Regions from separate parts of the Homo sapiens genome. Here region 1 is linked to region 2. The links are contacts of gene promoters, found by promoter capture Hi-C in blood cells and fetal thymus (Javierre and others, 2016). All regions are on one chromosome and are shown on one strand. The core of a region is centred on a gene start or on the middle of the fragment in contact, and the rest is flanking DNA. Distances in the headings are between cores, read along the strand shown.

Evidence for each region. Contacts are between HindIII fragments. The CHiCAGO score rates a contact against its expected background, and 5 or more counts as called.
Region 1: a contact is called between a fragment that was not itself captured here and the fragment with the promoter of TPRKB in region 2, in 1 of 17 cell types (non-activated CD4 T cells). The highest score is 5.9, in non-activated CD4 T cells.

Annotation. Positions count from the first base shown.
Region 1 is chr2:74,475,183-74,479,089 of GRCh38, reverse strand. CCDC142 (coiled-coil domain containing 142) reads left to right here. Exons shown (of 9, transcript NM_001365575.2): 6 at 3,364-3,478; 7 at 3,688-3,865. Among named protein-coding and RNA genes, the nearest start is that of MRPL53, 4.5 kb to the right of the region's middle. The HindIII fragment of the contact is 6,387 bases long and covers 1-3,907 here.
Region 2 is chr2:73,735,251-73,739,474 of GRCh38, reverse strand. TPRKB (TP53RK binding protein) reads left to right here and starts at 2,130. Exons shown (of 5, transcript NM_016058.5): 1 at 2,130-2,173. RefSeq lists enhancers at 1,689-1,748, 1,789-1,868. The HindIII fragment of the contact is 15,665 bases long and covers 1-3,871 here.

The DNA of each region.
Region 1 (3,907 bases), core at 204-2,703, 740 kb before region 2:
CCTGAGTAGCTGGAACCACAGGTGGAAGCCACAATGCCCAGCTACTTTTTTTTTTTTTTTTTTTGAGAAGGTGTCTCACTCTGTCACCCAGGCTGGAGTGCAGTGGCGTGATCTCTACTCACTGCAACCTCCACCTCTCAGGTTCAAGTGATTCTCCTGCCTCAGCCTCCTGAGTGGCTGGGATTACAGGCGCCTGCCACCACGCCCAGCTAGTTTTTGTATTTTTAGTAGAGATGGGTTTCACCATGTTGGCCAGGCTGGTCTGGAACCCTTGACCTCAGGTGATCCACCCACCTCAGCCTCCCAAAGTGCTGGGATTATAGGTGTGAGCCACCACACCCGGCCAATGCCCAGCTACTTAAAAAAATTTTTTTTTTTGTAGAGACAAGGTTTTGCCATGTTGCCCAGGCTGGTCTTGAACCCTTTTTAAAAATCTTTTTAAAAAACTTTTTTGGGAGGCCAAGGTGGGTGGATCGCCTGAGGTCAGGAGTTCAAGACCAGCCTGCCCAACGTGGTGAAACCCCGTCTCTACTAAAAATACAAAAAAGTAGCCGGTATGGTGGCAGGTGCCTGTAATCCTAGCTACTTCTGAGGCTGAGGCAGGAGAATCGCTTGAACCTAGGAGGCGGAAGTTGCAGTGAGCCGAGATAGCGCCATTGCACTCCAGCCTGGGCAACAAGAACAAAAATTCTGTCTCAAAAAAAAAACAGAAAACAAAAAAATTTTTTGTCCAGGTGCAGTGGCTCACACCTGTAATCCCAGCACTTTGGGAAACCGAGGCAGGTGGATCATCTGAGGTTAGGAGATCAAGACCGGCCTGGCCAACATGGTGAAACCCTGTCTCTTCTAAAAATACAAAAATTAGCTGGACATTGTGGTGTACACCTGTAATCCCAGCTACTCGGGAGGCTGAGGCAGGAGAATCACTTGAATCCGGGAGGCGGAGGTTCCAGTGAGTCGAGAGCGTGCCATTGCATTCCAGCCTGGGCAACAGAGTGAGACTCAAAAAAAAAAAAGTATATATATATATTTTATTTATATTATATCTATATATATTTTATTTATATTATATCTATTTATATATATATATATTTTTTTTTTAATTAGAAGTTTGGCTCGTGACATAGCCCTCAGGAGATCTGAGAACATGTGCCCTGTTCTTGAACTCTTGAGCTCAAGCAATCCACCGCCTTGGCCTCCCAAAGTTCTGGGATTACAGGCATGAGCCTCCACACCCAGCCTGGCTCCCAGAGTTCTAGTTAAACATCTGCATTTGCCTGTTGGGCATTTCTACCTCAGTTTACTGCTGTCTACTTAAACTCAACATGCCCCAGAGCAGGCTCATCATGAGTACTGCACACAGTGACGGTCATAGAGCCCTGAGGAAGGAAGGCTATAGTGGGCATGTGGTTAAAGAACGCTCCATACATGGCCTATGGCTGGAGATGGTGGCTGGGAAGCCTCAGAGGAGTGGCTGGGGTTACTGGAAGTGGGCAGTTTGTAGATCCTTGTGGGGGTAGCAGAGAGGTGGCCTTACCAGAGCAGAGGTTCCTTTTGTGGGTATGTTCACTGGGGTTGGGTGTGGGGTAGGGTAGTAAGCAATTTGGCATCAAATTGTGGAGGGCATGAACACCAGCCCCAACAATTTGCGCTTTACCTCATAAGTGAGGGGGTGACATTTTAAGAGCAGAAGGGTGTAATCCCAGCATTTCGGGAGGCCGAGATGGGTGGATAACTTGAGGTCAGGAGTTTGTGACCAGCCTGGCCAACATGGTAAAACCCCATCTCTACTAAAAATACAAAAATTAGCCAGGCATGGTGACGGGTGCCTGTAATCCCAGCTGCTCAGAGGCTGAGGCATGAGAATCGGTTGAACCCAGGAGGCAGAGGTTGCAGTGATCTGAGATTGCGCAACTGCACTCCAGCCTGGGCAATAAGAGCGAAACTTGGTCTCAAAAAAAAAAAAAGAGGCATTGTGAGTTTTCTTCCTGTTTGGACTATAAGATCCCAGTGGGTGGGGGAGAGACTGTCACACACTCTGCACCTTGTATTCCCTCAGTGTTGAGTACAGAGGCTCCTAACAAAAGTCCGTTGACAAAAGGGCAATTTCCTTGACATAAATAAGGGAGGAGAAGGGGGCTTGCATTTACTGGAGAAGAGAGGAAGATTTTGGATTTAGACAGGTTGTCAGATGTGCCAGGAGCCATATGGGCTCCACTCCATGTCTGGCCGCCCCCAGGTCTATCCTGTCTTCAGGCTCCCTGGCATCTACCATTTCTTTACAGAGCAGCTGCCATTAACCACATTTACTGGGGTTCCTCTCCCTCAAGATGGGCTGTAGAGCAGAAACCAGCTTTATTGCTGTGTTCTCTCCCTCCAAAAACAACCTATCAAACCAAAGAAACAAACCCAGCATATAGGCCTTTTCTTGCTTTATGGGTTATATTGCTCTGGAGTGGGCTGTGAAGAATAATAATATATAATAATGCCTTTCAATGTAAGGACATTCCAAAACTTCCTGAGTCTCAGAACATTCAAATAGTCATTGCTTCTGGTTTACATACAGTTCTTGTCTTCCTTTTGTAGGTGATAACCAAAAGATCATTGTAGGCTGGGTGTAGTGGCTTAGTGGCTCACATCTGTAATCCCAGCACTTTGGCAGGCAGAGGCAGGCCGATCACCTGAGATCAGGAGTTTGAGACCAGCCTGACCAACATGGCAAAACCTTGTCTTTACTAAAAATACAAAAATTAGCTGGGTGTGGTGGTGCACTCCTGTAGTCCCACCTACTTGGGAGCCTGAGGCAGGAGAATCACTTGAACCCGGGAGGCAGAGGTTGCAGTGAGCCGAGATCACGCCACTGCACTCCAGTCTGGGCGACACAGCAAGACTCTGCCTCAAAAATAAAAGGTCGTTGTAATTCCCCTTTCTTCCCTCAATTTCTGCCCATTGCAGATCATACAATCCCTCTTTCTGGCATATGCTCTGTGTGTGTGTGTGTGTGTGTGTGTGTGTGTGTGTGTGTGTGTGTGTGTGTGTGTGTGTTGCGGGGGTGGGGGCAGGGTATGTCTTTCTTTTTCCTTAAAGCTCTTGTATAGTAAAATTAACCTCAAGGATTTTCCATCTTTTGAACCAAGCTGGGGAGAGCAAGGTAATCCTAGGGCAATTGTTCATAATTTGGGTCCAGACCTCTTGGAAAACCCAATGACAACTATGGCATTGCTCCTCAAAAAATGGCCAGGCATACACAACTATGCAACAATTCTGGGGTTTTATGGATGTCAAGTTGGACATAGAGCTCCTTAGATATAGAGGATCATCATAATTTGACAAGCCCCTTTTACTTTCTCCCTATCCCTACAGCTCCTGCCTGAAGAGTCACTAAGTGTCTTTTCTCAAGAATGTCATAAACAAGCCATGCAAGGTTTCAAGCTCTACATGCCACGGGGTCGGTACTGGCGGCTTCGTCTCTGTCCTGGTAACTCCTCATCCCAGCTTCTCCTTCCAGAGTTCCAAGGGGGTAATAGTGTCTCAGCCCTTCCAAATTCCGGTTCCCCTCCACTGTCTCCATCCTTGTCCTCAGCTTCTGTACCCTTCCCTCCTGAAATCCTACCCTCTTCTCCCAAACACTCCATTTAGGGGTTCAATGGATCTCCACAGCCTTATATTCTGTCTTCTCTATTCCAGAACCTCCCAGTGCTCCTAGTGAGTATGCTGGTTTAGTGGTCCGCACCGTACTGGAGCCTGTGTTGCAAGGATTGCAAGGGTTGCCACCTCAAGCCCAGGCCCCTGCCCTTGGTCAGGCTCTGACGGCCATCGTGGGTGCCTGGCTTGACCACATTCTTACCCATGGGATTCGGTTCAGGTCAGGAGTAAAGGTGGAAGTGGCAGGGGGTGAATGGAACTG
Region 2 (4,224 bases), core at 881-3,380:
TCTGCCACATGGGAGGGAGGTAGACTTAATTGGCCTAAGGTGGCAAAACATCATGACAACTAATAAGATCTTGGTGGGCTGGCACCTTTGACCTATTATGTTCTTACCTGGATCACTGGATCCTGGACTAGGTTGATGCTCCAGACAGACCTGATCAACCTGTTTGTGATGTAGTCCTCCTGGGCCTAGTAAAATGTATTCTGGCTATGGCTCAACAATGTTGTACTGACATTGTGTCTGTGAAGGTGTTACATCGATCTGATAAGACAAACTTCCGCCTCCAGATACTAGGAGGTTGGTGGGCATATGAAACGGACTAGCTTTGCTAAAGGGTATAATCTGGGTTAAGGGCATAGACTGCAGGACAGTTCTCCAGGTGGCCTTGGACCAATTTAGTTCTCTCTCCTTTCTCACTTGTGGTTCTCTAGGATAACTGTAGAATGTGCTGGGAATGTAGCATCCTGTGATAGAGAGAGACTAACCAGACCAGCCAGGGCCCTGTTCCAGTGTCTCCCAGAAATAGAATGTCCTTCATATATATATGTATATATATATATATATATTTTTTTTAATTTTAATTTTTATTTATTTATTTTTTTTTGAGAGGGAGTTTCACTCTTGTTGCCCAGGCTGGAGTGCAATGGCGCGATCTCAGCTCATGGCAACCTCTGCCTCCCCAGATCACGTGATTCTCCTGCCTCAGTCTCTTGAGTAGCTGGCATTACAGGCATGAGCCACCATGCCTGGCTAATTTTTTATTTTTTAGTAGAGACGGGGTTTCTCCACGTTGGTCAAGCTGGTCTCGAACTCCCGACTTCAGGTGATCTGCCTGCCTCGGCCTCCCAAAGTGTTGGGATTACAGGCGTGAGCCACCGCACCTGGCCGAATGTTCTTCATGTTTTAGCCCAGTGTGTCATGCCTCCCCACCTCTTCCCCCTGCCCCTGCCCCCTGCAATTAGGCTGTTGCATTGCCACAAAGAAATACCTGAGACTGGGTAATTTATATAGAAACGAGGTTAAATTGGCTCATGTTTCTGCAGGCTGTACAGGAAGCATAGTACCACCATCTGTTTGGCCTCTGAGGAGGCCCCAGGGAGCTTTTACTATTGGCAGAAGGAGAAGAGAGAGCAGGCACATCACATGGTGAGAACTGGACCAAGAGACTGTGTTGGAGGGTGCCACACACTTCTAAATAACCACATCTTCCTGGCACTCACTCACTATTGCAAAGACACCAAGCCATGAGAGATCCACTTCCATGACCCAAACACCTCCCATCAGGTCCCACCTCCAAAAATGGGGACAATTCAACATGAGATTTGGCAGGGACATATATTCAATCCATCCCTGGACCCCCAAATCTCATGTCCTTCTGACATTGCAAAACATAATCATGCCTTCCCAATCACCTACCAAAATTTTAACTTGTTCCAGCATTAAACTCAAAAGTCCAAAGTGTCACAGGAGACATGGCCCAGAAAAAGAACTAATCCCAGCTCCTTGGGAGGCCAAGGCGGGTGGATCACGAGGTCAGGTGATCCAGACCATCCTAGCTAACACGGTGAAACCCCGTCTCTACTAAAAATACAAAAAATTAGCGGGGCGTGGTGGCGGGTGCCTGTAGTCCCAGCTGCTCGGGAGGCTGAGGCAGGAGAATGGCTTGAACCGGGACGCGGAGGTTGCAGTGAGCCGAGATTGCACCACAGCACTCCAGCCTGAGTAACAGAGCAAGACTCTGTCTCAAAAACCAAAGAAATCTCCAGCAGCGGAAATGTATGTAGAACTCATTTTGGTCAGTACTTTTCCTTGTACAGGAAGAAACTGAGGTCGCCCGGTGCAACGCCCAACACAGGTTAAGACAAAGCCGAGACTCAAAACCAGACCCCAGCTTCCGGTCCCAGCCCATAGATTCTTCCATTTCCTTCGCCGGAAGTGATATACAGCCCCTGTTCTCCTTCGCGTCCGTTGACGGGACCCAGGTTGGGGAGGCGGAAGAATGGGCGGGACCATGGGCGGAAGCACCCCTCCTACCAGGACCCGGAAACAGATGGCCACCCCGAGCCGGCCTATCCGGAAACTGGCTCGAAGAAGACGGGGATTGGCCATCGCTTCCGGAAGTTGTGAGCTTTGTTTCGGAGCGGGAGCTCTTCCGAGACGCACTGGGGGCCGGATGGTGAGTTTTCCTTGCGCTCTAACGGGCAGGCTCGGGAGCGGGAGGGTCCGGGCAGTTTTAGTAGTGTCTTTGGGACAACGGCTGCGGTTGGTATTTCTCAAGCGGCAACGAGGCCAGCCCCTGGGAATGCAGCACGAGAATGATAGAGTCAGGCTGTCCCCTCAAGAAATAGTTTAGTGAGGAGACATGCAGCGGATAGGCGCAGGATTCTTCAGAGTTGTGATTGGGCCCAAAAAGGAGCTAGTCCTCAGACTAAAAAGAGCCGTAGTGCCGGGGTTCTGGGCGCTGTAGTAAATGGACTCCAAATGGAGTTGAAGGGAGGGAGGAGTGCGTCAGGCGGAGATGAAAGGAGAGAGGGAACTACCTGTCCGATAGGGCAGAATCGGGGAGAAAGGTTGGTGACTTGAGCTTAGAGAAGGCCATTGCGGCGGTAGCAGAAGAGGAGAGGCAGGGACCAGATCGTAGAGTGTGGAACACCGTGACACAAAGTTGGGGCTTTATCATAAGAGCAGCAGAATGACAAGATCTGATGTACATTTTGAAAGGATCACTGTAACTGCTGGTGACGACTGGATTATAGGAGGGCAGGAATTGTGAGAAACCACTCAGAAGGCTACTGCTGTAGATGAGCGATGTGACCTAGCGTATGGGAGAGAAGTGGACGAATCAAAAGTATATTTAGCAGGTGAAAATTCAGGACTTTACGGATTAGATATAGGATTTGAGTGACAGGTTGGGTCTCAACGATGATTCCAAGTTTCTGACCTGAGTGAGTAAATTACGCTAAACAAGAACAAACTATTTTGAAGTTTTCTAAGGGTTCTTCCCCCCACTCAGTGTTAAAAAGCACGTTTTTTTCCTTTCTTATTATGTGTACTCATGTTTTGTGTGCTTACTGTAGAAAATTCAGAACATACATAACAAAATATTTTCTTTTATATAAAGGACAATAAAAATCACCTCATAACCTCACTACCCAAGATGGTCATATTTTAGTGTTTCTTTCATGTATTTTAAAAAAATATGTGTATCTTTTTATATAATTGGGATCCTACTGATTATGTCTTTCTGTATCCATTTTTTCCACCTTAGCATGACTAATGATTGAACTGTGTGCCAGGATATCGTTCACAAATATATTTTTTTCTGTTTGTAACAGAAAAAGTCAAATTAATTCTAAATAAGAGATAACATTAACTTTTTGGTGTATTTTCTTTTTAATATTTGTTTAAAAGCCTTTTAAAAAACCCACATTTTGGCCAGTTTGTGTTTTGTTTTCCATTCAGATGTTTTTACTTACTTAATGTTATTTATTGCCGTTTTTACACACCGTCAAGACCACATGTTTTAATGGTTGTTAAATAACAACTAATCCCATCATTAGCTAGATAGGTTATTTGCAACTTTTTACTGTTAAAATAATGAGAGGAACATCTTATATAATTATTGGATTCCTAATGACTTCCATCAGAAAGAGTTCTAGAAATATAATCTGCCAGGTAAAAGGATAAAATGAGTCTCAAATTGCCCCACCAAAATATTTTATTAAGAATTTGATAGAAATTGTTTTAAAGAAATTTTTGCAATACATAGTTTTTCCATTCAAAGATATGGTCATGTCTTTCTGGTTATTCAAGTTGTCTTTTATGTTTCTTTTATGTCTTTATATATAATAACCTATCCTTTTCTTGTTAAGCTTATGTCCAAGAAAGGAGCGACATTGATTATTTAATAATTGTACCCTCTCTGCTTAATTTCCATGCGTGGAATGAATATCTTTGGGTCAAGTGGGATACTTTATCCTTTTTTTTTATTTTTATACTTTAAGTTCTAGGGTACATGTGCACAACGTGCAGGTTTGTTACATCTGTATACATGTGCCATGTTTGTATGCTGCACCCATTAACTCATCGTTTACATTAGGTATATCTCCTAATGCTATCCCTTCCCCCTATTCTTTTTTTTTTTTGAGACGGAGTTTCACTCTTGTTGCCCAGGCTGGGGTGCAATGGTATGATCTCGGCTCACTGCAACCTCTGCCTCCCAGGTTC